Linked DNA regions of Homo sapiens: all the other regions are linked to region 1. Evidence: promoter capture Hi-C in 16 types of primary human blood cells and fetal thymus (Javierre and others, 2016). All regions are on one chromosome and are shown on one strand. The core of a region is centred on a gene start or on the middle of the fragment in contact, and the rest is flanking DNA. Distances in the headings are between cores, read along the strand shown.

Region 1 (3,812 bases), core at 430-2,929:
GTAACTAAACAGAAGCACATTTATGACTGAATTGGAACAGATAACTTTAATGGCAACTTGGTCAAAACCAGATCCCTATTCTTGCATTCAGGTGTTAATAATTAGCCCTAGGTCTCTGATATTTGAACATAAAAAGGCAAAACCTCTAAATATTACATCTTCTCTAATGGGCAATGACACTAGAGCAGGTACTATAATTAATCCTCCCTCCAAGCTTCCATACGTCCTGTCCCACAAAAATAGTAAATTGCACCAAGTATGTTTTATCAACTAAATAGCTCTTCTGCACCTTCTTCTCTCCCACAAAAACTCTACTTACAAAAGTAGGAGAGGAATGGCAGAAGCTGGAAACTGAGTTCAGGGAACTGCTACAAGATTGTTACAATCCTTATCCACGCATCCCGAGCTTTACCACAGCAGATTACCCAGAGCTTCCCAGACAAGGCCGGAGAGCCGCGGAGAGAACTATGACCCCCCTCCTCCCTCCTCCTACAGAGCAGCCTCGCTCCCTAAGGCCAAACCCGCGCCCCCCATGACCTCCAATGGCTCGAGAAAAGAGCTTTGAATTGCCCGCTTTTTCCAAAGCTGGTTCATACTCCCTCGCAAAGCAGGGAATAGGGTCTGGGGACAAAAGGAGGCACATGCCTGCCACATGAGGAAAACCCCATCACCTGGAACTCGGCGAACTCCTCACAGTTCACACCGCCACTGGGCGCCGCCATATTGGACAAACACGAGGACCCCGCTGCAGGCCAATCACCGCGGAGCAAAGGTGACCGCGGAGTCGCCTGACAAAAAATATAGTACGAGGGGAATCCTTAGGAAAGCTGAGTGCAAGGCTTGAGTTCAACGTGGTCCGCATCCACCTCGGAACCTGTCACCCTGCTGTCCCAACCCTTTTAACATGTCCTCCTGGAACTGGGCCAGATACATGGATCAAAGATTGTCAGACCTTGAAGGGACTGTTTACTCCAATCCCATCTTTTCACAAAAGGGAAACAATTTCCTTGTGGTTCCCCTACCAGGTCGTTGAAGGAAATCTAGGCAAGTGAGGCCTTTCTAATACCTCTCACTCCAGTGCCTAACCTCCTCCCCGGACCCTGGAGCAGGGGGGTCTTTGTTAAGAATTTGGGACCACTAAGAAACGTCAAGAAAAAACGGCATTTCTGGCAGTGTGGGTGGGTATGAGTAAAGTGTTTAGGATGGAGATGATCAAATGTTTTTAGAAAATAGGTAAATAGAAAACAAATTGAAAACATACATGTTAATTTCTCAGATTAGCCTGAGGGATGCTCCAACAAGAGATAGGGCCACTGAGCAGAGTCCAATTATGTGTTTTCTGATAAAAGCATATGTTCATTGAAAACACTGGAAGAGCGGCATACTGGAATACTGGTTTATCTGGTGTATTTCGGGAGTTTACAGATCACGAAAGTTGCACATTTCCTTTCTATTTCACACAGGTACTCCCATGGGTACATATCCGCTAGGGCAAGGGCCCACGGCGCCACACTCCACAGGACCATCTCCGAGGCTGGCTCAGGATGCGGCGCCAGGGGCACTAGGCTGGCGCCGCGGGTCTCCAGCGCGTGGCGCACGTCCTACACGCCCCGCACTGGCGCAGGCCTGTACACCGCGTCGCGCACGCCCCGCCCCCCGGCGCCGCCTGCGTCCTTCCCACTCCAACGCTGGGTGACATTGAGCTCACCAGCGCCACCGTCCCCGGCGAAGTTCTGCGCTGGTCGGCGGAGTAGCAAGTGGCCATGGGGAGCCTCAGCGGTCTGCGCCTGGCAGCAGGTGAGACGCCGGTCGGGATATGGGAGGTAGGGGAGCTGGCCCGGCCGCTGCGGGTGGGGGAATCCTGAAGCCTTCCTGGGCCCCGGAGTGGCTCCATTCCATGACGCACTTTCTCGGTTCCTCAGAATCCTACCTACTTAGTAGCCATGTGGGAGGGAACTAGGTGAGCAGCTGCTGATAGGCATTGGAGACTGCCCGTGAATTACCCTCATCTCCATCCACCCAGCTCCCACCAACTTAACTGCCCACGCGCCTACCCTTCTCCCCACCCCCGTCCTCAGCCTCCCCTGAGCTCAGTCTGTAAAGCACCTACTATCCCTAGACCTCCCCTTTACCCATGCATTCAGCTTTCCACCCTAACCTCCCCTATCTATTGCTCTCCTTGAGTCTTCCCTCTTCCCCCTGCTCCTTCCTCTCTGGAGTTTATCCCAGAAAACCTCCAGTCTGAAGTTTCCCCACTCATTAAATGTCTGATTAGGCCAAGGATTTAGGTCTTAGAGATTAATAATAATTGTTTTCTTAAAATGGAGGATACATTACTTTTAAACACTTATACAATTAATTGATTCGAATTTCTTGGAGGAAGTGTGTAATTGAAGGATCTGCAGTTTGTTTTGGTGGTAGACATTTGTGTGATGACTATTTTGGACTTAGGTAATGAAAGCTTAATTCTTTTTTTTTGGGAGAACCAGCAGAGCCTTGGCATAGTAGGGGTTGAGAAATCAGAGGGCTTGCATTTTGACTCTTTTCTGGGTACCAGAGATCTTTTGTTCAATGGCACACACTACATTATTAAAAAGTTGTTAATTAAATTTTTAAAGGAAAAATAGCCCCAAACTTGGCTATTCAAATAATATAAATATATATTGTAATGTAAATGAAGTAATGCAAAAAAAAAGAGTGAATGTTGCATAGTTTCACAAGTTTGATACATAACCTTCCCCACCTCAAGATTATCCTTTACACAGCTTATCTAGTGTTCCGGTAGAGAATGGACTGGAAAACATGTCTCAAACTAGAGAGTATTATTATATTTACTTCCTTTAAAAGCAAACACTTCTTCCACTAAAATCCTCAATACTATGATTTCATTGATTTTGTCAGTTTTGTTGAACTAATTCACCTAAAATATCTTCTGTACATCCTATTAACATTATGAAGCTTTTCAACAAGGCAAGTGAAAGGATCATTGCTCTGTAAAAAAGTTAAAATGGACTGCATGAAAAGAACTTTGACATCTTGGAACTACTTTGACATCTTTGAACTAATACTGAGTATATTGTAAGTAGTTCATCTTCTTGCTTTGAGAATATATTTATGCATCTTGCATAAATATATTTTTGCATCTCTGCAAACTTCTGATGTGTAAAAACTTCACTATTGACCACTTAACCAAAGCAGAATTCCTTGAGTGATTTAAGAACAATTTATTTTACTTCAGATATAAAATTTTTAATAGCACACTAAGGATGTTATATGAGCAGCTCTCTCCATATGATCTTCCACGAATGTCTGATGCTTTGTGAGCAACTCCGCAACAACCTACTACCTTTCACCCACTTCATAGCTAAATACTTTCATATACATTATTTTGTTGGATGGATTTCTCATAGCAGCCCTCTCAGGTAAGTCTTATTCCTCCCACACTTTATAAATGAAGAAACATAGGTCAGAGATGACTTGTCCAGGATCTCTTTGCCAAAAAATGTTAGAGCCAGGAGAGGGTACCCTTTAATTCTGGAATTTTTGTGCTTTTTGCTGTTGTTCAAGCTGTTCATTCAGGGGCTGTGCGTGTGTGAATTTGTCATGACTAATTGGATCTCATTAATCTGAAATGGAAGAGTCATGAAATGCAGATTTAGTTCTGAAATGAAAGTACACCTTCATGTGCAAATGGCTTTTCAAGAAAGAAGACTGCTTTAATAAGCAGCCTTAGCCAAAGGAATGAAAGATCAAATAGAAATGTAGGCTCAATGTGGTGGCTCACACCTGCTATCCCAGCACTTTGGGAGGCT
Region 2 (3,812 bases), core at 575-3,074, 820 kb after region 1:
GATTAGAACCCAGGCAGCAAGTGAATAGATAGTTTCTATATCCCTGGTTTCTTGTGTCTTGTTGGTTTTGGGAGACTGATGAAGCATAGTGATGTAGAGATACTAGAAACTTAGACCGAAGTACCAGTTCTGCTATATACTAGCAGTGTGACATTGAGAAAGTGAGCCTTAGTTTCCTCATCTGTAAAATGGTGGTTTTACCTACCCAACCGTGAACTATGTGGCACTATAAAAATGTTGGGATTGACACATTTGAGCATGTATTGGGGGCCCTGTCCTAGATGTGGGTAAAATCTGTTGTGAAGCCTGAGGTCTTATACATACTGTGCAGTGCAAGCACCCATAATAGGAATGTCGAACACTGCTAGTGAGGTAGAAGGCATAGGCAAAATGGCGGAAATTCCATCCCCTTTATCACCCACTCTATCCCCCACCCTCAGCGAGCACTTTTAATAAAATAATATGTACCATATTGGTATTGTTTCCCAAACTTTGGTACTGTCACATATGCAAGATAATTTGATAAGCAAATGAACATTAAAAAATTCTCCCCAAATTTTCACACACATACATATTTGAATGAAACAAGTTCATTTAATTTAAATTAGGAGAAAAACTTAACATCTCAAAACTGATTTCACAGATATTATTGCTAAAAAATAAAGGACAAGAAAAGTAAGTCAATTCAAAGACCAATATTAGGTAAATAGTACAGGTGGATGAAGATAATTCTGAAAGTGGTACTTGGATGACTGAAGACTGGGAAGTTATGAACTAAAATAAATATGAGTGCTTTTGCCCCCAGTATAAAATGTTTTTATCTTAAAAGTGGCATTTGTGAAAGCATTTGGTTAGAACGTATATACAAAATCCACTTACATGTTGGGCTTTGTTTATTACCTTTTGAGAGATAACTTCCTGAGACATTGAGCCTGTAGTCATTACCCCTACAAGGTTCTGAAGAAGAGGGGTGTCTTATTATCTTGGGTCCAGGAACTTGCTAACCACTACTATAGTAGTTTGGCATTGTGGGAATTTATTTTCCTCAGCCTTTACATAAAAGTTTACCCAGATTTACCTAGATTCTAGCTTGTGCTTTTTCCTCCAACAGTTGCTGATGGGGAGAGGAAAAAATAGCCACTATTCAGGTTCCCTGTGAGTTAACTGCTGCTGTACAAAGGCAGGTGTAATATTTTCTCTGTATTAAAGGTGAGGAGAAATGGCCCAGTGCCCTAAACATTTATCTATGGCCCCGATAAGCTAAAAACTCCTAAATCTTCCCATGCAATTGTTGTAATCTCTTGCTTTCCACAGTTCCACTGGTTCTTCCTTGGGATTTTCCCAACCACAACCCTCCTTAAGACCTTAAAGATACTTTAACCTAGCTTAGGCCTGACATGGACAGATTTCCTTTTCTGCTAGCACAGTCCAGATAAGATTAGTTTAAAAAAAAACAAACTATATTATGAATCCGTGGTAAAAAGAAAAAAAGTAGGGGTATGTTTATTGAATTGATGGAGAGACAGCTTAGCCTAAGGTGGTTGGAATCTGTCTACAAATTAGTTAAGCCTGACGTTGATCATTGGACATTCATCCCCGTTTGTCAGGCTTAAATTCAAGTGCTTTGGATGCTGAATCAAATTACTGTGGTAGAAAGAGGTTTAATTTTTTCCCTAAGAAAAATCTTATCTATGGATAAGTAGAAACCATTCTCTGACAACCTTGTAATAATTTTGACAGGGAATGTAACTACTGTGTTCTGCTTTTGGTTAAAGGCTAAAGTACATATTAGGAAAATTTGAGGCTGGGCGCAGTGGCTCACACCTGTAATCCCAGCACTTTGTGAGGCCGACGCAGGTGGATCACTTGAGGTCAGAATTTGAGACCAGCCTGGCCAACACAGTTAAGCCCCATCTCTACTAAAAATACAAAAATTAGCCAGGCATGGTGGCGGGCACCTGTAATCCCAGCTACTTGGCAGGATGAGGCAGGGGAATCGCTTGAACCTGGGAGGCAGAGGTTGCAGTGAGCCATTGCACTCCAGCCTGGGCAACAGAGTGAGACCCTGTTTCAAAACAAAACAAAACAAAACAAAAAAACAACAAAAAAAGGAGTATTTGAAATGTAAGTTTGTCCAACTTTAGTTTTCCAGTTAGTGAAGTGGTGGGCAACACACCTGCATTGTTTGCTCTTTTCAACTGAGTTTCTCTAATTGAGGAGTGATGTTTCTTGATGGTAGGACTCTTCATTCCTGCTATCTGGCATAATTCATGGGACACATTAGATATTCAGTAAATGTTTGGTAAACGAATGGAACTTACAAATTGTATTCTTTTTACAGTATGTGTTTTAGAAAGCATGGATCATATATTTATTGATCTGTCCTCCAAGTCACTAAAGAATAACTTTGAAGACTACATGAAATTTGGCAACCTATTAATGAAGTCTATTCATAATATTTCTATTAGGATCCTAGAGAGGCCAGACATAAAATAATACAGTCTACTTTTATTTTACTTTTTGAGACAGGATCTCTCTCATCACCCAGGTTGGACTGCAGTGGCACAATCATAGCTCACCATTGCCTTGAACTCCTGGGCCTGCTTCAGCCTCCCCAAAGCAAGTACTATAGGCGTGTGCCACCATGCCCAGCTGATTTTTAATTTTTTTTATAGAGACAGAGCCTCACCATGTTTCTAGGTTGGTCTTGAACTCCTGGCCTCAAGCAGTGTTGGGATTATGGGTATAAGCCATGGCACCCCATCCAATCTGCTTTTAAATACTAAAATGTGGGTATTTAGAACTGCAAGTTACAACTCACCCTCAAATTAATTCCCAGAATGGTTATTGTGTTGCAGTGTACTTCTGGAAAGACAACAGTTTTATAGTTAAATAATAAACGCTTAAGGGGATAGAGTAAGACATTTTCCTACTTTCTTACACTTAGGCTAAATGTTACAATTGTGATTTAATAATTAAGTAAAACATGGTAAAAAAAAAATTAAAGAGGGGTTTATAGTATAGATATCTCTTCAGGGATCCCAACTTTTTCATGCTACTGCTTTTAGGAGAGAAAAAAACTAGATGAATGGAAAAAAACACCAATTGGGATATGTCACACTGGGACTTCAGTTTGAAGACTCCACTGTAGTAAAAAGACTAATTTGCTTCTGGATATTTTTCTCTTTAAATGAATGGAGAGGCTGGGCGTGGTAGCTCATGCCTGTAATCCTAGTACTTTGGGAGGCTGAGGTGGACAGATCACTTCAGGCCAGGAGTTTGAGACCAGCCTGGCCAACATGGCGAAACCTCATCTCTACTGAAAATACAAAAATGAGCTGGGTGTTGTGGCGCATGCCTGTAATCCTAGCTACTCGCGAGGCTGAGGCATGAGAATTGCTTGAATCTGGGAGGTGGAGGTTGCAGTGAACTGAGATCGCACCACTACACTCGTCTGGGTGACACAGTGAGACCCTGTCTCTGAAGGAGAAAAATATTAAAGGGTAATGACACAGTAACACCTAGAGATTTCTCCTTTTTCCTCATGAAAAGAGGAAAAAGGGATAGTGAACTTAATGCATTAGATTTATTAGTTGGGTTAATTTTTATTGTCAGATCAGTTATCACCATGAATGGGAAGTCATATTTTGACTTCACACAGCAGTGAAAACTATCAGCTCCTGATTTACAAGCTTTGTAACAACTGGTTTTCTGTGGTATTTTTTTTTATATATATTACTCATTTTTTCCTTTTTGGAATGAGATAATATTGACCTAGATTAAGTGGGCAGGTAAGGATTAATTTAGTCTCT
Region 3 (3,812 bases), core at 365-2,864, 700 kb before region 1:
AGTACAGAGAGCTAAACCCTGTTAGTGTAAAGAAAATCAATAGTTGATGCAACAAAGAGCCAAAAATGCAATATAAGCATGATATTTACATACACAGGAAATACTGAAAGAATAAGCTAAAAGGGTTGAAAGCAAATTGCCTCAGAAGAAATGGGGTTGAGGTAGTGCTACTCTTAGCTTTTCCCACCAAACATTGTAGAATTTAGTGACTAATTAAATATGGGTCATATAACTTTATTTTTAACCCAAACCCCAAAACATATTTTTGTTTTGATTTAAGGTAAAAACATATTCCTTTATGCAATCCACTCACTCCTCTAGTCTAGATACTAGACTAGAGGTATCCTAGAATGGACCATCAGAAAGCTGTGTGCCTGGGACTGCATTTTAGCTCCTTGGAGTGGTAGTTTTAGTGAACTGGACGTAATTCTTTTGCTCTGCACTTACATTAAGGGACAGCTAAATAAAAACCCTAAAAAACACATTATTATATTTACTGTAGAGAAGTAATGGATGTTTCACAACTGCACAGTGTTCTCTTTATGGGAACACAGAAGAAATTTCTTACAGGCCTCAATACTTAAAGACTATTCTTGTCTTGAGTAGGTGATTTTTCTTTCTCCTTTTCTCCTAGACTATAAATACTGCAGTTCATGCATGCGGTTTTCATTCCCTCTTTCTGATGGCTAATAGAAACCTCAGAGCAAACTATGGATCCCTCTTTCTAACACAGTACAGGATATGGTGACTTCCCCTTGGGACACTAACCTTACTCCTGGTTTGATCTTTTTCTAGCCTATCCTCTTTTTCTCCTCCTTCTCAGTCCCTTTTATTTTATCTTGAAAAATTGTTTATATCTTTATATGCTACCCCAAGTCATTTTCAGAATGAGGAGAGTATAGATAAATACAGGCACCCCTAGAGATATGTCATCTGCTTAGTCAGTTCTATGCTAAAGATGTACAAATAAGTATAAGACATGACACTTACCAGGAGTTTGCAATCTAATTGGGGAAATAAAAAATAGTGTACAGAAATTAAACATATACACACACACACACACACAATAAGGCAATATGGGACAAATGATAAGTAAAATACTAGGGAAGTACAAAGGCAAAAGACAATCAGGCAATCACGAAATGTAAGAAGAGGATCTGAGCTCTGGAATGACCTTTAAATAGTGGGAAATAGACACTCAAAAAAGGAAAGCAATTGGGAGAACATTTTGGCTGCTGAAGATAATATGGGTAAGTAGGAAGTACCAGGTGTGATTATTGCATACTGAGTAGATCAGTTTGGTGTGAATGAAGGGTATGAGTAGGGAGCAGTAAAAGGGAACGCTGGAAAGGTATGGATAAATTACAGGGTCTTGGCCAGGTGTGGTGGCTCACGCCTGTAATTCCAGCACTTTGGGAGCCGAGGCAGGTGGATCACTTGAGACCAGGAGTTTAAGACCAGCCTGGCCAATATGGTGAAACCCCATCTCTACTAAAAATACAAAAATTAGCTAGGCATGGTGTAGTCCCAGCTACTTGGGAGGCTGAGGCAGGAGAATTGCTTGAACCTGGGAGGCGGAGGTTGCAGTGAGCCAAGATTGCACCACTGCACTCCAGCCTGGGTGAGAGAGCAAGACTCCATCTCAAAAAACAAACAAACAAAAAAACAGGGTCTTAAATGCCAGACTAAAGGGGGTTTGAATACTAAGTCTATTCTAGAGATAGTACAACTTTTAAATATTTTTGAGTAGTGCAGTAATACAGTAGAGTTTCAGAAAGACTTATATGGTGATGGTCTGAAAATACTGGTGAGATGATAACCTGGAAGCAACATTATTAGAACAGTTTAAGGGTAAAGTGTTAGAGCTTATCTTAGGATGTTGAAGATGGAAAATAAAAATACTTGAGGCACACTGTGAATAAAGGAGTGATACATCTTGATGGTTAAAATAAAATCACAGTTATGAGCATTTGGGAACAGAATAATATGACTCTGAATTACAGAAACACGAAAATAAAAAAGTTGGCTTGGCTGTAACTATCCAGCAGACAAAAATGTGCAAAGTTTAGTGCCTAGTGTTTATAACAGATAAGAATAATAAAGCAATTCACTGAATTAAACATAGTTAGCTAATTCAGAATCTATCCTAACAGCTCCATGAAAAAAGATTTTGACTTAGAAGATAATCAATACCAGCATATCATAAATTACAGCTTTGAGGCACATACCATCCTGATGAATAGAACCTTTTGCATTTACGGTCTGAAAAGACAGACAAAAGGCCAAGCTCCCAGGGCAAAGTCAGCTAAACTCAAATTATTTAAAAAATATAAACAAGTATGTGTATGTTGGAAGTAAAAACCATAACTGAACAGAGAGGCTTTGTTCGGATTACAAAAGGGGAAAGACTGTCTATAAATATGGGATATTAAGTGAGATAGGAATGAATACAATTACCTACAATAAAAAGGAAAAACTCACTCTACAGTTAGGGGTAATAATCTTTTCACTAGAGCTCATCTTAAAAATTAGAATTTTCGCTCTCCCTCTCCCTCTCCCTCTCTCTCTCCCCATGGTCTCCCTCTCCCTCTCTTTCCACGGTCTCCCTCTGATGCCGAGCCAAAGCTGGACTGTACTGCTGCCATCTCGGCTCACTGCAACCTCCCTCCCTGATTCTTCTGCCTCAGCCTGCCGAGTGCCTGCGATTGCAGGCGCGCGCCGCCACGCCTGACTGGTTTTCGTATTTTTTGGATGGAGACGGGGTTTCGCTGTGTTGGCCGGGCTGGTCTCCAGCTCCTAACCGCGAGTGATCCGCCAACCTCGGCCTCCCGAGGTGCCGGGATTGCAGACGGAGTCTGGTTCACTCAGTGCTCAATGGTGCCCAGGCTGGAGTGCAGTGGTGTGATCTCGGCTTGCTACAACCTCCACCTCCCAGCCGCCTGCCTTGGCCTCCCAAAGTGCCGAGAGTGCAGCCTCTGCCCCGCCGCCACCCCGTCTGGGAAGTGAGGAGCGTCTCTGCCTGGCCGCCCATCGTCTGGGACGTGAGGAGCCCCTCTGCCTGGCTGCCCAGTCTGGAAAGTGAGGAGCGTCTCTGCCCGGCCGCCATCCCATCTAGGAAGTGAGGAGCGTCTCTGCCCGGCTGCCCATCGTCTGAGATGTGGAGAGCGCCTCTGCTCCGCCGCCCCGTCTGGGATGTGAGGAGCGCCTCTGCCCGGCCGCGACCCCGTCTGGGAGGTGAGGAGCATCTCTGCCCAGCCGCCCCGTCTGAGAAGTGAGGAGACCCTCCGCCTGGCAACTGCCCCATCTGAGAAGTGAGGAGCCCCTTGGCCTGGCAACCACCCCGTCTGGGAAGTGAGGAGCGTCTCCGCCCGGCAGCCACCCCCTCCGGGAGGGAGGTGGGGGGGTCAGCCCCCCGCCCAGCCAGCCGCCCCGTCCGGGAGGGAGGTGGGGGGGTCAGCCCCCCGCCCGGCCAGCCGCCCCGTCCGGGAGGTGAGGGGCACCTCTGCCCGGCCGCCACCCCGTCTGGGAGGTGTACCCAGCAGCTCATTGAGAACGGGCCATGATGACAATGGCGGTTTTGTGGAATAGAAAGGGGGGAAAGGTGGGGAAAAGATTGAGAAATCGGATGGTTGCCATGTCTGTGTAGAAAGAAGTAGACATGGGAAACTTTTCATTTTGTTCTGTACTAAGAAAAAATCTTCGGCCTTGGGATCCTGTTGATCTGTGACCTTACCCCCAACCCTGTGCTCTCTGAAACATGTGCTGTGTCCACTCAGGGTTAAATGGATTAAGGGCGGTGCAAGATGTGCTTT
Region 4 (3,812 bases), core at 661-3,160, 680 kb after region 1:
GATAACTTCTAAGTTTTGAGCTTTGACTCTCCTGACAGAAGGCAAGGACCTTTCAGCTATAACTTACCAACCTCTGACTGTGCTGTTCTCTTGTTCATCTCACTACTGGATATCTTGAGCCTCAGGACATAGTAAGTGTTCAATAAACATTCTTGAATGTATGAACTGACTGCATGCAAGAATGCTTTAGCACAGCAGGGCCCAACCTTTTTGTCACCAGGGACCGGTTTTGTGGAAGACAAGTTTTCCACAGATGGTGGGGGGACAGGGGATGGTTTTGGGATGAAACTGTTCTATCTCGGATCATCAGGCATTAGATTCTCATAAGGCACCCACAACCTAGATTTCTTGAATGTGCAGTTCACAATAGAGTTCACACTCCTATGAGAATCTAATGCCACCACTGATCTGACAGGAGGCAGAGCTCAGGTGGTAATGCTCGCTGGCCCACAGCTTGCCTCCTGGTTCCTAACAGGCCACAGACTGTCCAGAGGCCCAGCGTTTGGGGACCCCTGCTTTAGCACAGGGAATGGGTTCAATAAAGAGTTTTTTTCTTTTGAAAATTTTTACTCAGGTAAAATTCACATAACATCAATTAACCATTTTAAAGTGTACAGTTTAGTGGCATTTAGTACCTTCACAATGTTGTGGAACCATCATCTCCATCTAGTTCCAAAATGTTTTATCACTCCCAAAGGAGTCCCTATACTCATTAAGCAGTCATTCCCCATTCCTTCCTCCCCACCCCCACTACTATGCTTTCTGTCTCTGTGGATTTACCTATTCTAAATATTTCATAAGATGTAATCACATCATATGTGACTTTTTGTGTCTGGCTTCTTTCATTAGCATACATTTCTGAGATTCATTCATTGTAGAATGTATTAGCATTTTATTCTCTCCCCCCCACCTTTTTTTTTTTTTTTTTTTTTGAGACAGGGTCTCACCCTGTGGCCTAGGCTGGGGTGCAGTGGCATGATCTTGGCTCACTGCAGTCTCCATATCCCAGGTTCAAGCAATCCTCCCGCCTTAGCCTCCCAAGTAGTTGGAACTACAGTCCCTTGCCACCACACCAGCTATTTTATTTTATTTTATTTTTATTTTTAGCAGAGATGAGGTCTTGCTATGTTGCCCAGGCTGGTTTCAAACTCCTAGTCTTACACGATTCTGCTGCCTCAGCTTTCCAAAGTGTTGGGATTACAGTCATGAGCTGCCCTGCTGGGCCACTTTATTCCTTTTAATGGCTAAATAACATTCCATTAGATGGATGTATCACACTTTGTTTACCCATTCATCCTTTGACAGACGTTAGAGTTGTTTCTACCTTTTGGTTATTGTAAATAGTGTTGCTGTGAACACTGGTGTACGTGCATTTGTCTGAATACCTGTTTTCAATTCTTTTGGGTATTAGCCTAAGGGTGGAATTGCTGGTCATATAGTAATCTATGTTTAACTTTTTGAGGAACCACCAGATTGTTTTCCAACAGCTCAATAATGTTTTACTGAAGTTAAATAGAATAAGCAGGAGGGAGTCTGGGAGGCAGGGATGAGGGCTTTTCCTGTCCTTCACAGGCAGCCCTGGACTCTGCCATTTACCGGCTGTGTGATCTGGATCAACGTACTTAAATTCCCTGCGCTGCCTCCTAATCCTCAAAGTGGAGAAAATAAAACCTAATTTCTGTGAGCTGCGTGAGATACTGTTTCTGAAGCTCCAGGCACAGAGTAAGCCCCCGCTCATTAATTGCCTTCCCTTACTCCCTGACCTTGCCTTTTCGCACTTCACTCGCTGCCACGTGGCCTCGGAGCCCAGTCCGCACCCGCAGCCCCCAGCTGAGCCAGGCTGCAGACTACAACTCCCAGCGAGCACTTCTTCCCGGCCGCCTCTCCCCAGCTGCTGCGCATGCTTTGGCAGACGTGGCACCGGGAACTCGGAGGCGGGGAGCGGCTGGGAAGTGGCCGTGGTGGTTGGCCGCGGTGGAGCTAGCAGGCGGGCGGGCGGGAGCGGGCGCCGGAGTGGAGAAAGGAGCCAGCGGTGGGCAGCGCTGCTGGGATGGCGCGGGCCGGGCCGGCGTGGCTGCTGCTGGCAATCTGGGTGAGACTGTGGGGCAGGGATCCGGGCCGGGCCAGCACGTGTGTCCCGCGTGCCCTTCTGCGCTCTCTGCTCCAGCCCTCTGCGGAACGTGCGGGGAGCTGCCCCGGGGCACCGGGATGAGGGCGTGCATGCCAGGCAGGCGGGCACTGGGTGCTACGCGGGAGACAGCGGGCGTCCCGGTGCCCTCGCCGCCAAGCGCTCCCGGACGCAGGGGCAGGAGGCAGCTGTGGGGCGCCGGGAGATCCCTGGCAGGGTGCTTACGCCACGGCCACAACTTTGCGGGGATGCAGGTCGGGGCACAGCCGGTCGGGCAGGACGCCGGCGGGCTGCGGGGTGAGCTCCGCTCCAGACTCCGAGCCCTGCACCTGTGTGAGTGCGGGGTGGGATGGGGGTGCTTACTACCTGCACTGCCGGAAACCTTGGTTTAGGGCCACCTTGTTCTTGGCTTCGGCCCCAGGCGTCTGGGAAACTGCGGGCCACCACCTGGGCCTCCGCCCACAGGCCAGGCTCGGTGGGCTGGGTGGGGTCGACGTAGCCCGCCCCGGCGGAGGAGCTGCTCCTACACCCAACTGAGGCGGGCTCGAGCCTCAGCCACTTTCTAGCTGTGTGACGCGGCGGTTCATTTAATGTATCTGAGCTAGTTTCCTCATGCATGATATAGAAAGGCAAAGCTACCCCCATAGGGTGGTTCTGAGAGTCGGATGAGGTCTCAGTGGAGGAAGCTGTGTAAACTGCAAAATCTTACAAAAGTGGAAAAGGAGTGGACTCCAAGAGTAGTTTGCTACACTTGGTGGGGGGGACTCCAGGCATCCCTGAGAGAGGTCGGAATGGGTGTGCCTGCCGGCCCAGGTCTGGGGTTTGGCCTTCGTTTCGCTGTGGGTGTGTGATGAGATATTGTGGCCTCCTTCCCCATCTTTTCCATAACTTATGCGCTCCCTTATTTTAGGACCATCCTGGTCCTTTTCCCCTGAAGTTCCAGGGAACTTCCTGTTCCTGGCACCCTCCCCCCAACCCAGATTTTCCCGTTCTTTTCCATTTGGGTGTGGCAAGGACACTGGGCAAATGGGAGGAGAAAAGTGTGGGTTGAGTTGCTTGAAACACTTCCATCTCCCAATACCCTGGCCTTTTGGATCACCAGTGAGGAGTGGCCTGGTACTCTCTGGTTGGAAGTGGGTGGGGAAAGAAGCCCCCTGTTCTCTTCGGTCTGTGTTCTCCCTCTTGGGGAGAACCAGGCTGGAGTGGGGCAGTGTCACTTAATTGCGTCTGGGTTTGTTGAATGCTGGTTTGCCATCAGTTCCCTGGAGCCAGTTGGTCTGGGCGGGTCTCTGGGCCAGGAGGAGGGAGCTATCTCCTGAAACGCCCCCCATCGGTCTTTGCACTTGGGCTGAGTAGGAGGTCCTGCTTTCCTCCCTTTCCCCTCCCTTTTGTGAAAACAAACGGCTTGAGAATCTGAAATTTCATTCGGCAGACATTTATTTGTCAATCACATTGTTTGGATTGATATTTTGCCCTCCACTGGGTTAGATTTTGGGCGGAGAGCAAAACACACATTGTACCTGCCGTCTGGTGTTGCCCTGGATTGGGCAAAGGAGTCAGTCCTGTGAGCAAATAATGACAGAACTGCAAGTGCTGTGACCTTAAGTACTAGTATCCTTCACTGAACCGGAGCCATACGTTGATTTAAAGGGAGGTCAGCCATGGCTTTCCTGAGGTGGTAGGG
Region 5 (3,812 bases), core at 1,313-3,812, 670 kb before region 1:
TAAATTTCAAAGGATTGAAGTCACATAAAACATATTCTCTGATCATAATGAAATTATATTAGAAATCAATAAGATATCTAGAAATAAAACCAAGTATCTGGATATTCTACAACAACGTGTTTATTTAGAACACACTTCTAAACAATCCATGGTCAATGAAAAAATCACAGAGAAACTTAGAAAAATGTTCAAAAACTGAAATGATTAAAAAACCACAACATAACAAGCTATGCTTAGAGGGAACTGTGTTAACTTTAAATGTTCATATGAGAAAAGAAGACTTGAAATCTTTGATACAAAGTTTCACCTTAAGAAGCTATAAAAAGAAGAGCAAAGTAAATCCAAGTAAGCAGAAAGAAATACTAAAGAGTAGAAATCAATGAAAATGAAAATAATCAGCAACAGAGAAAATTAACAAGACCAAAAGTGGTTCTTTGAAAAGATGGGGGAAAAAAGCTGAATAAATTCTAGATAGACTGATGAAGAAAATGAAGCACAAATTAACAACAGCAGGGATCAGCGCTTACAGGCATTAAAAGGATAAAAAGTAAACATTGTAACCAACATTATGACAAAAATAGAACATTAGAACATCTTCAATGAAATAGACAAAACCCCAGGAAAAAAAAAAAAAGCCCAAACAAACCAAAACTGGCACCGGGTGGAAAAAAAAAAAAAAATCTTATTATTAGCCTTATATCTGTAAAGGAAATTCAATTCATTATCAAAACCTTCCTAAAACTCCAGACTCAGATGGTTTCATTGGTGAATTCTTTTAAAAAAAAGTATTTAAAAAATTATTTTCAAAAACCGAAATAATACCAATCACATACAAACTCTCATAAAATAGAAAGAAAGGAAACACTCCCAGAAAATAGAAAAGGGAACATATTATGAGGCTGCCATACCCTTAATACCAAAACCTGATAAAGATATCATAAAACAAGAAAACTGTAGACTAATATCCTTCATAAATAAGAACACAAAAATCCTTCACAAAATATTAGCAAATCAAATTCAGTACTATAGAAAAAGGATAATACAGTTAACTCTTGAATATGGGTTTGAACTACATGAGTTCACTTATATATGCACATTTTTTTCAACAAATGTATTGGGGTTGGGTGTGGTGGCTCATGCCTATAATTCCAGCATTTTGGGAGGCCAAGGGAGGGGGATTGCTTGAGTCCAGAAGTTCTGTACCAGCCTGGGCAACATGATGAAATTCCATTTCCACCAATAAATAAACAAACAAACAAACACATAAAAATAGCCGGGCATGGTGGCATGTGCCTGTAGTCCCAACTACTTAGGAGGCTGAGGCGGGAGGATCACTTAAGCCCAGGAGGTTGAGGCTGCAGTGAGCTGTCATCACACCACTACACCCCAGCCTGGGTGATGGAGTGACTCTGTCTCAAAACAAAAAAATAAGTAAAATTTTAAAAAAAGAAAAAAAAAAGGCCAGGCGCAGTGGCTCACGCCTGTAATGTCAGCACTTTGGGAGGCCAAGACGGGTAGATCACCAATGGTTAGGAGGTATGGTTAGGAGTTTCAGACCAGCCTGGCCAACATGGCAAAACCCTGTCTCTACTAAAAGTAACAAAAATTAGCCGGGGGTGTTGGTGGACACCTGTAGTCCCAACTACCTGGGAGGCTGAGGCAGGAGAATCACTTGAACCTGGGAAATGGAGGCTGCAGTGAGCTGAGATCACACCACTGCACTCCAGCATGGGCAACAGTGAAACTCCATCTCAAAAAATAAATAAATAGAAAAATTTTTAGGAGGATTGCTACAACTAGACATTTGTTATTACTCATAGAAGAATCACATAGCCTAGAAATATAAAAAAAAAATTAAGAGAAAGTTTATTTTAAAAATTAAGAAAAAATTAAGAAATATCAAAAAAACTAAGAGAAAAATTCCTCTACAAGATTGAGGATGATCTGATAGAGGAAATTCCTTAAAAACCTAAAACTAGTATCACAGCCAATGGTAAATTATGGAACACTTTCCTCTTAGATTAGAAACAATGCAAGAAAGTCCAGTCTCACCACTTCTATTAAACAGTGTACTGGAGGCATAAAAATTAGAAAGAAGTAAAATTTGTCTTTATTTTCAGATGACATGATTGCTTACATAGAAAATCCTAGAGAATCTACAAAAAGAGACTAAAACCAATAAAATTAATTTGTTTATCAAGGTCACAGAATATAAGCTTAATAAAATTCAGTTGTATACTTACATATTAGCATACATTGGAAAATGAAATAAAAATAATTCCATCTATAATAGTATCAAAAATATTAACTACTTCAGAATAAATGTTATAATGTGCATAATTTCTCCAATGAAAACTACAAAACACTGCTGAAAGAAATTAAAGATCTAAATAAATGGAGAGATATACTATATTCGTAGATTTAAAAGTACAGTAGTGTTGTCAATTCTTAAACTGATCAATAGACTCCACACAATACCAATTCAAAATCTCATCTGTCTTTTTTTAAAAAGTAGAATTTGAGAAGCTGATTGTATAATTTATGTGGAAAGGACCTGGAATAGTCAAAGCAATCTTGAAAAGAAGAACAAAGTTGGAGGACTTATACTATTAATACTTGACTTCAAGACTAACAACAAACTACAATAATGAAGACCGTGATACTGGCATAGGGACTGACAGATAGATCAATATAACAGAACAGAAAATTCAGAAATAGATGTATTAGTCTTTGATTTGCAACAAAGGTACCAAAAGAATCCAATGAGGAAAGTAAAGTCTCCTTACGAAATGGTGCTGAAACAACGAAATATCCGTACAGGAAAAAACAAAACAACTTGACCTTCACCTTACAACACACACAAAAATTCATTTGAGATTCAGAGACTTCAAATGAAAACTAAAACCATAAAGCTTGTGGAAGAAAGCATAAGAGAATATCTTCATAAACTGGGGCTAAGCAAAGGTTTCACAGACAGGACACAGAAAAAAAAAACAATAAAAAATGATAAATAATTAAGCTCATCAAAATTTAAAAGTGTGTGCTAATGAAAAGATATCATAATGAAAATGAATAGGCAAGCCACAAAGCCACAGCATGGGAGAAAATATTCACCAAACATATATGATAATAGATTGGCATTCAGAATATATAAAGAATTCCTACTTGATAATAAAAAGACAACTCAAATTTAAGAATGGGGAAATGATGTGAACAGACACTTCACCAACAGAAGGTGTACATATGGCTAAGAATCTCAAGAAAAAAAGTTCAACATAATTTGTCATCAGGGAAATGCAAATTTAAACCACAATGAAATACCACTACATACCCATTAGAATGGCTAAAATGTTTTAAAACTGACACCACCAAATCTTGGAGAAGATGTGGAACAAATGGAACTCTCATATATTTTAGGTGGGAGTATAAAATAGTACAACCACAGCCAGGTGCGGTGGCTCATGCCTGTAATCCCAGCACTTTGGGAGGCCGAGGTGGGCGGATCACGAGGTCAGGAGTTTGAGACCAGCCTGGCCAACATGGTGAAACCCTGTCTCTACTAAAAATACAAAAATTAGCCGGGTGTGGTGGCGGGTACCTGTAATCCCAGCTACTTGGGAGGCTGAGGCAGGAGAATTGCCTGAACCCGGGAGGTCGAGGTTGCAGTGAGCCGAGATCGCACCACTGTTCTCCAGCATGGGCGACAGACCAAGACTCCGTCTTGGAAAAAAAAAATAGTACAACCACTTTGGGAAAAGACCTGGCAGTTCCTTATAAAGCTAAATACATAGGTACTCTATGACCCAGCAAAG
Region 6 (3,812 bases), core at 559-3,058, 650 kb after region 1:
GTTTGGGGGCTTGGCACAGGAAGGGAAGAGAGGAGACTCCAGGCTGGGGACACAAAGAGGGAAATTTTCCTTTTCAGGGGAAGCAGGAGCCAGGACAAGGAGGCACCCAAAGAGACAGACCAAGTAGCAGGGCAGCTAGCAACATTGGGCTAATTAATCCTAATTGCATCCTAAAGCATTGTATTGATTAACAGTGATTACTCAAGAGCTCTCAATACAAGAGAGCTTCAGAAGCCCAACCCTCCGGAAGAGACAGTTTCTTTACTGGCCTGGCTTACCACCTGCTCTTTGGCAAACCCAGCCTGGTTAGAATCTCTGAATCATTTACTTGGAACAAAACCTGGAGCATTGATTCCATCACCACAGTATCACAACCAGCTTCTGCCACCTTCCTTAGACCTTTGCAATAACCTATAAGATAATTGCTTCTGTTAGGAGCAATTCTTCTTCTACCGAAACATTGTAATTAAGCAGAATGGAAATATAGTAATTAACACAGTGTTATCTCAAGCAAACAAGCTAAAGAGCGGTGAATATAGGGGGTGACGGAGTTTTTAGGATTCACTCTTGACCTAGAAATTCCAAACTTATCTTGAACTAAGGTTGAAAGAGTTTAAGAAATAGATCCAAATTCTCATGCTCAAGAGCAGGAAAGGGTGGAAAAGCTAGGAGCACAACACTGTCTTCTTCCTCCCACCTGAGGGCATTTTCTGGGAGATAAAGCTAAAAAATGAGTGCAGGCTCTCCCAAGAGGCCATCTCTCTCTCTCTCTCTCTCTCTCTCTCTCTCTCTCTCTCTCTCTCTCTCTCTCTCCCCTCTATGTGTGTGTGTGTGTGTACACATGCTTGTGCATAGCCCAGGCACAAACACAAACCTTGTCTTGCAGCAAAAGGCAAACAGCCAGTCATATACTAATAGGAGACAGAGAATTGAAAATAAAAAGACAGCACGTATAATGTCCAAATTGTTTTCTGCTCCCAGAATTGCCTGCTCATTGTGCCTGGGGATGGCAAAGAAAAAAGAAAATTCCCACCCCAGAAGTCATTGTCAATTTGTGAACCAAAACCTTGCTCAGGTCAGAGGAACTGAAGTGTCACTGAATGACTGCTTTGCCATTGTCCTGAACTAATGTGAAAGAAGAGATCTTCCTTCCTTCCTTCCTTCCTTCCCATTTAAGTGTCACTCACTAAGCTAGGCAGAGAGGTCATAGGAAGAGCTTCACAGGCAGGCAGGGGAGGCAGACGTAATCATAGCAAATGCAAGGACTGCCACAGGATGGGAGCTCTGCGGGCACATGGAGAGCCAGTTACCATCCTACCAAACAGGACAAAGAAGTCTTCATTGGAAATGGCCATTCTAGCTGAGAATGGAAGATAAGGCAGGAATTTGCCAGACAGAGAAGCAGGAGGAGGCAGAGTATTCCAGGCAGAGGAAGTAGCATGTATAAAAGCACAAGGCGATATAATTAGATTTCTGTTTGAAGAATTACTTGCCCCTGGTTAACAGATTCAGAGAGAGCTGAAGCAGTAAATGTGAGCAGGTGTTTCATGTGGTGGAAAGAGCACCGCACCAGCAGTTAGGGCTCCCCAGTCCTAGGATGAGCTGGGCCACTGATGAGCTGAGTGTCCTTGGACAAGCCTCTTAATCTCTCCAACCTTAGCTCCTCCTGGATAAAATGAAAGGGGTTGATCCACTGGTTTGTAAGCTTCTCCTTGCACATGTATTCTATGATTCTGTCTCTACCTGAAGATACTTCTTTAAATCCTGCTCTACATTATGCTCTTTACCGTATTTGCACACTTGTTCCTTTCCTTGTGTATAGCACTTTACAGTTTACAAAACTATTTGCCATATACTATCCCCTTTGACCTTCACAGCCATGTGAGGGAGACAGCTACACTGAAGACCTAGATAAGCTTGTCCAGTCACTGGCTGTAAACCTCTCTGTGCGGATGATGCCCAAGTTTGTATCTGCAGCTCCGGCCCTCTCGCTCTCTCTTAAAATCTGGATGTATAGAACCAACTGCCTGCCCCTCCTCTGCATGACCATCTAAGAGACATCTCTATCTTAACATACCCAACACTTAACTTCTGATTTGTTTTTCCAAGCCAGCTCCTCCCTCAGTCTTCCCCATCCTAGTAAGTAAAAACTCCATTCTTCCAGTTCCTCAAGGTCAAAAGCTTGAAGTCATTTCATACCCTCCATTCAGACCATCCATAAATCCTGTCGTCTCTATCTTTGAAATATTTTCAGAATCTTACCATTTCTCCCCACCTCTTCTACTTGTGCCCTAGTTCAAACCACTCTCTTCTCTCCCCTGGATGTTTGCTCTGCCATTTCTAACCTTTGTACCTACAGTCTGTTCTCCACACGGAAGCTGTCCTAATTCAGATCCTATCACTCCTCTGCTCAAAAACCTTCTATGGCTCCCCAGCTCTCTAGAGAAAAAGCCTTAGCAGCCCCACAAGGCCTGTCTGACATTATCTGCTAGCGCTCTCCCTATCCTCACTTCTCTCAGGCTTCCCCAGCCTCTCTGCTATTCCTCACACACCCAAGGCTCTCACCTCAAGGCCTTTGTACTTGATGCTCTCTCTGCCTGGAAAGCTCTTTTGCCAAATGTCCACATAGGTCATTTCCTCACTTCCTTTAATCTCTGCTCAAATATCAATTCATCAGAGATGTATTACCATCTTTTCAAAAATGACAAATACTTGTCATTATCACCATCTGACATTGTACATATTTATTGTCTGTCTCCCCTGACCAGAATATAAATTCCACAGGAGCAGAGGCCTTGCCTGCTTTGTTCATCACTATAGCCCCAGCTTACAGAACAGGGCTTGGTTTTTGTTTGTTTGGTGGTTTCTTTTAAAGGTACAAAATAATGATTTAATAAATGAATGATTATTATCCTCATTTTACAGATAGGAATCAGGGATGCAATTGGTAATTTTCAGAGCTAGGCTTGAACTGAGATTTTTCCATATAAATTTTTTTCTCCAATTGCTTATTAGTTAATATTTATATTAGCACTTAAAAACTCTTTAATAGAAAATGTATATTATAGTAAAACATGCTAATTGTTTTTCAACCCAGTTAACCACCTGCAGCATTCCAAATCACAACAGAGGGGAGAATTAGCTCTGAAACCCACAAAAAGTGTTCATCAATCCCACATACACGCAATTTTTCTGGAACCATTTTTGTTCCCTGTGTTACATTTCTAGTTTTTCTTCATACAGTCCTAAGTCAAGGGTGTGGTGAGAGATTGGGAAGGCAGGCTTTGTAGCTTGGCCTCGGGCTGACACCCAGGGGTAATCACATCTCTCTTCCTGAGCACTCATAAGCACCTCTCTGCTTTCCTCTTTCCTGCTCAGCTGGCACAGACTGTCAGATTTGGGCTGAGGATAAATCAAGAGGAAGTGAGGTATGGGTTGTGAAGATCAGAGGCATGGCTGGTTCAGGGATGACACCAGGCTTCCTGGCAGATGAGCAGGATAAAGGGTCAAGTCCAAGGGCTCAACTCCAGGCAAGGAAGACAGTGGCAACTCTTCGGATGTTTAGACCCAAGGAAGAACATAAGGTGTGGTCACCCTTCTTGAAGGCATTTGAACACTAGAGATCTGTGTCTGTGATTATCTCCCAGGACCAGCGTGAAGCCACAGAGGTCCTGGATAAGATCAGGACAGGATGGGCGTTGGCCAAGGTCACCTAAAGCAGTGTTCCCAGAAGGAGATCTGTATCCCATTAAAAAAAGGATCTGGGCCGGGCGCGGTGGCTCATGCCTGTAATCCCAGCACTTTGGGAGGCC
Region 7 (3,812 bases), core at 512-3,011, 600 kb before region 1:
AATTAGCTGGGCCTGGTGGTGCAAGCCTGTAGTCCCAGCTACTGTGGAGGCTGAGGTGGGAGGATCTCTTGAGCCTCGCAGATAAAGGCTCCAGTGGGGTATGATTGCACCACTGCACTCCAGCCTGGGAGACAGAGAGAGATTCTGTCTCAAAAGAAAAGAAAAGAAAAGAAAAGAAAAGAAAAGAAAAGAAAAGGATGCTTTAAAAATATGGCAAAATGTACCCTTTATTGACTATTGCCTTGTTTTAATTTTCTCTATTTTTCTATTTATTTTCTCAGTGTACTTTCCCATTTTTCTTTCTCTTTTCCTTCTTTGAAAGTAATTCTTGGCCAGGCATGGTGGTTCATGCCTATAATCTCAGCACTTAGGGAGGCTGAGGCAGGAGGATCACTTTAGCCCAGGAGTTCAAGGCTGTGATGAACTATGAACACACCACTGTACTCCAGCCTGGGTGACAGAGTGAGACCATGTCTCTTAAAAAAAAAAAAAAGTAATCCTCTTATTTCCTTTTCCATTTTGGCTAACTTTGCTTTGACTTCATCTTATTTTTATTAATGAGATGCAAAGACTATAAACATGACCTTGACCCATCCCTTTTTGCTCTTAAACAGAGACTCATTCCTTTTCTTAGCTAGAGGAGATATGAGGCAAATGTGACTAATCTTCCTTTCGTGCCAATGGAAAGTATAAAAGCCAAAACAACTTTGCCTTCGTAGCCTTCAGATATGTTCCTATGATGACCCCTACTTTTTTCTCTAAGAAATGGTAGGCAAACCAGGATATTTCACTTTACAGTACAGGATACTTTTACAAAGTATTGGGGTCATCTAAATCAGGCAAGGTAGTAAGTCAACCTAATAAGGACCCAGCTATTTCTATGACAGGGAAGACTTTAAAAAGGAGGTATTTATGAGGTAAAAGTATTAGAAAGAAGCCAAAGCTTCCTCCAAAGGAAGTGTCTCCAACCCTAATATCAACTGGTTAACCCCTTAGATGGCTTTGTTTAGCAGAAAGTAAAAATCAGGAGTACGTGTGATACAGTGATGGTGCAGGATTGTTTGTTGCAGACACAATCTGAGATCCCCAGAAGAGCCTGAAGAAGGAGTAGGAGACAGGCATCTCTTCCTGTTTCTCTAGTATTTATTCTACAATGTTTTTTGGATGATTAAAAAAAAAAAACTTTGTAAAAAGTTAATCACAGAGACTGTTCAAAATCTGTCACAGTAGAAAACTGAAATTGACCTAAAAATTCAGTAAGGATTGTTAAGCTAAATGCTATAGGACCTGAAATCCTAATATGAAAGTTAACCATGTATAAGAGAACAACGGGATGTTAGGAAAACTGGTCATTAAATTTAAAAAACCACCTCGTACTATGCTTTTCCAAGGCAACAAAATAGTACTATGCTCTAGAGAGATCACAGAAAGATTGCTATTTAAGAATAAGAGGCCGGGAGCGGTGGCTCACGCCTGTAATCCCAGCACTTTCGGAGGCCGAGGTGGGCAGATCACGAGGTCTAGAGATCGAGACCATCCTGGCCAATATGGTGAAACCCCGTCTCTATTAAAAATACAAACATTAGATGGGTGTGGTGGTGCATGCCTGTAGTCCCAGCTACTCGGGAGGCTGAGGCAGGAGAATTGCTTGAACCTGGGAGGCGGAGGTTGTAGTGAGCCAAGATCGTGCCATTGCACTTCAGCCTTGCAACAGAGCAAGAATCCGTCTCAAAAAAAAAAAAAAAATACAATTCTACAATTAAAATGTTATAATGATCTAAATATACCTAATATCTCATCTGTGCATTAAAAAAATCAAATATCACATGCTGCACTTGCACAGAACTTTGTAATTTACAAAATACATTCCCATAAATTAGGGTATCTGATCCACATAACAACTGAGTGAAAAGGGTAAGGGTAAACATCTATTCATACATCAAGCACATGTGATGAGCTGACAACAATAAGACTTAGCTCCTTATTCTTGAAGAACTCACAGCCCAAGTAAGAAGGGAAATAATTAACAAAACAACATTGCAGTATAGTAAATGATGTACAAGGTTCTAAGGCAGTACTAAGGACTGAGTGTCTAAATCAGCTCGGCCAGAGGTAAGGGGTTTTTCTTTTACAAAAGAAAAAACTAAGGCTCAAGAAAACTAAGTGTCTTGACCAAGGCTTTACAACAGGTAATTAGCAAAGTCAGTTTTGAACTCATGTTTTTGCCTCTTGATTCAGAGCTCTTTTCACTACATTAGACTCACTGCTCTTTGAAGTGTGACAGCTGCTTTATACTCTATGAGAGACTGCCTCTGTTGGTGAAAATTTTTCCTTTCCCTGTACCCTCTCCAATGTTTCTGGATAATCAGTGCTGATTTCTCTTCCATTTCCCGATAGTGTTTCTCCACCTGACCTAAAAAGATGATAGACACTATTACAACATACTCACTGCCATGCTTTCTTAAGTTCTGGAATCAGGACAATGATAATAATAATCTTGCATTCTTTTTATTTTTGTCAATATTGTTCACTAATTTTCCCAATTCTACTATTTTACCATGGTTCTAAGATTTTAGAAACAAAGCTTTCCCAGATTATGCAGCTTCTTCACAGAAAGAACTCATATAATATTTTTGTGGTAGAGTAATAAGAAAATGGCTGAAAATCCAATACAAAGAACACTAAAAAAAAAAAAAAAAATTCCTAAGTACATGATTAAGAAGTCATTCAGTACCACCAGAGGGAAAGGGCAAAATGTGTGTATGTGTTCTCTACTCTACATGCTTCCAAATTTCTCTTAAGTCACTCAGTCAGTTATACAGATGACTTTCTTTTTGCTTTCTTGGAGTTGCTCAGCATACAGCCCAGGGTTCACAGTATATATGTGACAGAATAAGGCAGTAGAATTGTTAATAAAAAGGGGGGCGTATTTGGGGAAGTATAAGAAACTGATATAATTTAATGATCAACTGGATACGGAGGTAAAAGAGGGAAAGGACTCTAGGATGTCTCAAATGGGAAACTGAGTAAGTTGTTGGTGCCATTACCTGAGATGGGGAATAAAGGAAAAGGAAATCTGAGGGGTAAGATAATGACTTTGGTGTTTGGGATGCCTGTGGATATCCAGGTAAAGCTGGATCCAATAGGCAGTTGGCTACAGAGGTGTGTTATTCAATAGAGTAGAAACTATCCACAAGTGGCTACTTGGGTTAAAATAAAGTAAAATTAAAATTCAGGTCCTTCAGTGCACTAGCCATATTTCAAATACTCAATAGCCATCTCTAGCCACTGGCTACCCTACTGGATGGTACAGATATACAACCTTTCATTTTTGTAAAAATTTATCTTGGGCAATTTTGCTCTAAGAGCTTAGGAGAGTAGGTGAAGATGGAGACCAGATTTGAGACTGCTCAGCACTCAGCTGAGAGTTGAGCTGCAGTTATGGATGGATACCCCAGGAAGAGAAAAATGACAGGAATAAGGTGAGGATGGAACCCTAGAAAACATCTATATTTAATGGAGATGAAGTGAAATAAAGGGCTAGTGAAGGACCCTGGATTGAATAACAAGAAGACAGGTAAAATAATTTGAAGATAATATTGAAACCACTAAGACCTCTCAGACCACATCTTCTTATTAATTTCAGCTTAGTCTGTCAAAGGCGGCAAGAAGATGTCACAACATTTGTACTAAGGAATGAGTTAAACTCTGATGGCAGAATGTAATAATATTCCAACTCCTTGTTTCAGTTCAAGAAGTATCTTTGTGTCTCTAACAGCTATCTTTATGCATACATTTTTATGTTTCACTAA

What was found. The method cuts DNA at HindIII sites, captures the fragments that hold promoters and counts their contacts. A CHiCAGO score of 5 or more calls a contact.
Region 2: a fragment that was not itself captured here is called in contact with the fragment with the promoter of FAM162A in region 1 in 8 of 17 cell types (naive CD4 T cells, fetal thymus, naive CD8 T cells and 5 more); the score reaches 11.1 in naive CD4 T cells.
Region 3: a contact is called between a fragment that was not itself captured here and the fragment with the promoter of FAM162A in region 1, in 1 of 17 cell types (neutrophils). The highest score is 5.9, in neutrophils.
Region 4: a contact is called between the fragment with the promoter of PDIA5 here and the fragment with the promoter of FAM162A in region 1, in 6 of 17 cell types (megakaryocytes, endothelial precursors, erythroblasts and 3 more). The highest score is 8.9, in megakaryocytes.
Region 5: a contact is called between a fragment that was not itself captured here and the fragment with the promoter of FAM162A in region 1, in 1 of 17 cell types (total CD8 T cells). The highest score is 5.1, in total CD8 T cells.
Region 6: a contact is called between a fragment that was not itself captured here and the fragment with the promoter of FAM162A in region 1, in 2 of 17 cell types (total B cells and naive B cells). The highest score is 9.8, in total B cells.
Region 7: a fragment that was not itself captured here is called in contact with the fragment with the promoter of FAM162A in region 1 in 1 of 17 cell types (naive B cells); the score reaches 5.6 in naive B cells.

What each region holds. Positions count from the first base shown.
Region 1 is chr3:122,382,503-122,386,314 of GRCh38, forward strand. It overlaps FAM162A (family with sequence similarity 162 member A), which reads left to right and starts at 1,680. Exons shown (of 5, transcript NM_014367.4): 1 at 1,680-1,797. The coding sequence starts at 1,764. It overlaps MIX23 (mitochondrial matrix import factor 23), which reads right to left and starts at 729. Exons shown (of 5, transcript NM_001017928.4): 1 at 672-729. The coding sequence starts at 722. RefSeq lists enhancers at 1,491-1,991, 1,815-1,864 and a silencer at 1,575-1,724. The HindIII fragment of the contact is 2,247 bases long and covers 213-2,459 here.
Region 2 is chr3:123,203,605-123,207,416 of GRCh38, forward strand. All of the region lies in intron 1 of SEC22A (SEC22 homolog A, vesicle trafficking protein), which reads left to right. Among named protein-coding and RNA genes, the nearest start is that of SEC22A, 3.6 kb to the left of the region's middle. The HindIII fragment of the contact is 3,731 bases long and covers 1-3,690 here.
Region 3 is chr3:121,685,618-121,689,429 of GRCh38, forward strand. The region is part of intron 14 of GOLGB1 (golgin B1); the gene reads right to left. Among named protein-coding and RNA genes, the nearest start is that of HCLS1, 27 kb to the left of the region's middle. The HindIII fragment of the contact is 9,188 bases long and covers 1-3,812 here.
Region 4 is chr3:123,065,115-123,068,926 of GRCh38, forward strand. It overlaps PDIA5 (protein disulfide isomerase family A member 5), which reads left to right and starts at 1,911. Exons shown (of 17, transcript NM_006810.4): 1 at 1,911-2,092. The coding sequence starts at 2,051. RefSeq lists a silencer at 1,966-2,205. The HindIII fragment of the contact is 10,820 bases long and covers 1-3,812 here.
Region 5 is chr3:121,709,439-121,713,250 of GRCh38, forward strand. All of the region lies in intron 10 of GOLGB1 (golgin B1), which reads right to left. Among named protein-coding and RNA genes, the nearest start is that of GOLGB1, 38 kb to the right of the region's middle. The HindIII fragment of the contact is 696 bases long and covers 2,215-2,910 here.
Region 6 is chr3:123,029,866-123,033,677 of GRCh38, forward strand. No RefSeq gene overlaps it. Among named protein-coding and RNA genes, the nearest start is that of SEMA5B, 4.0 kb to the left of the region's middle. The HindIII fragment of the contact is 211 bases long and covers 1,704-1,914 here.
Region 7 is chr3:121,786,020-121,789,831 of GRCh38, forward strand. IQCB1 (IQ motif containing B1) reads right to left here. Exons shown (of 15, transcript NM_001023570.4): 12 at 2,265-2,413. Among named protein-coding and RNA genes, the nearest start is that of GOLGB1, 38 kb to the left of the region's middle. The HindIII fragment of the contact is 1,641 bases long and covers 942-2,582 here.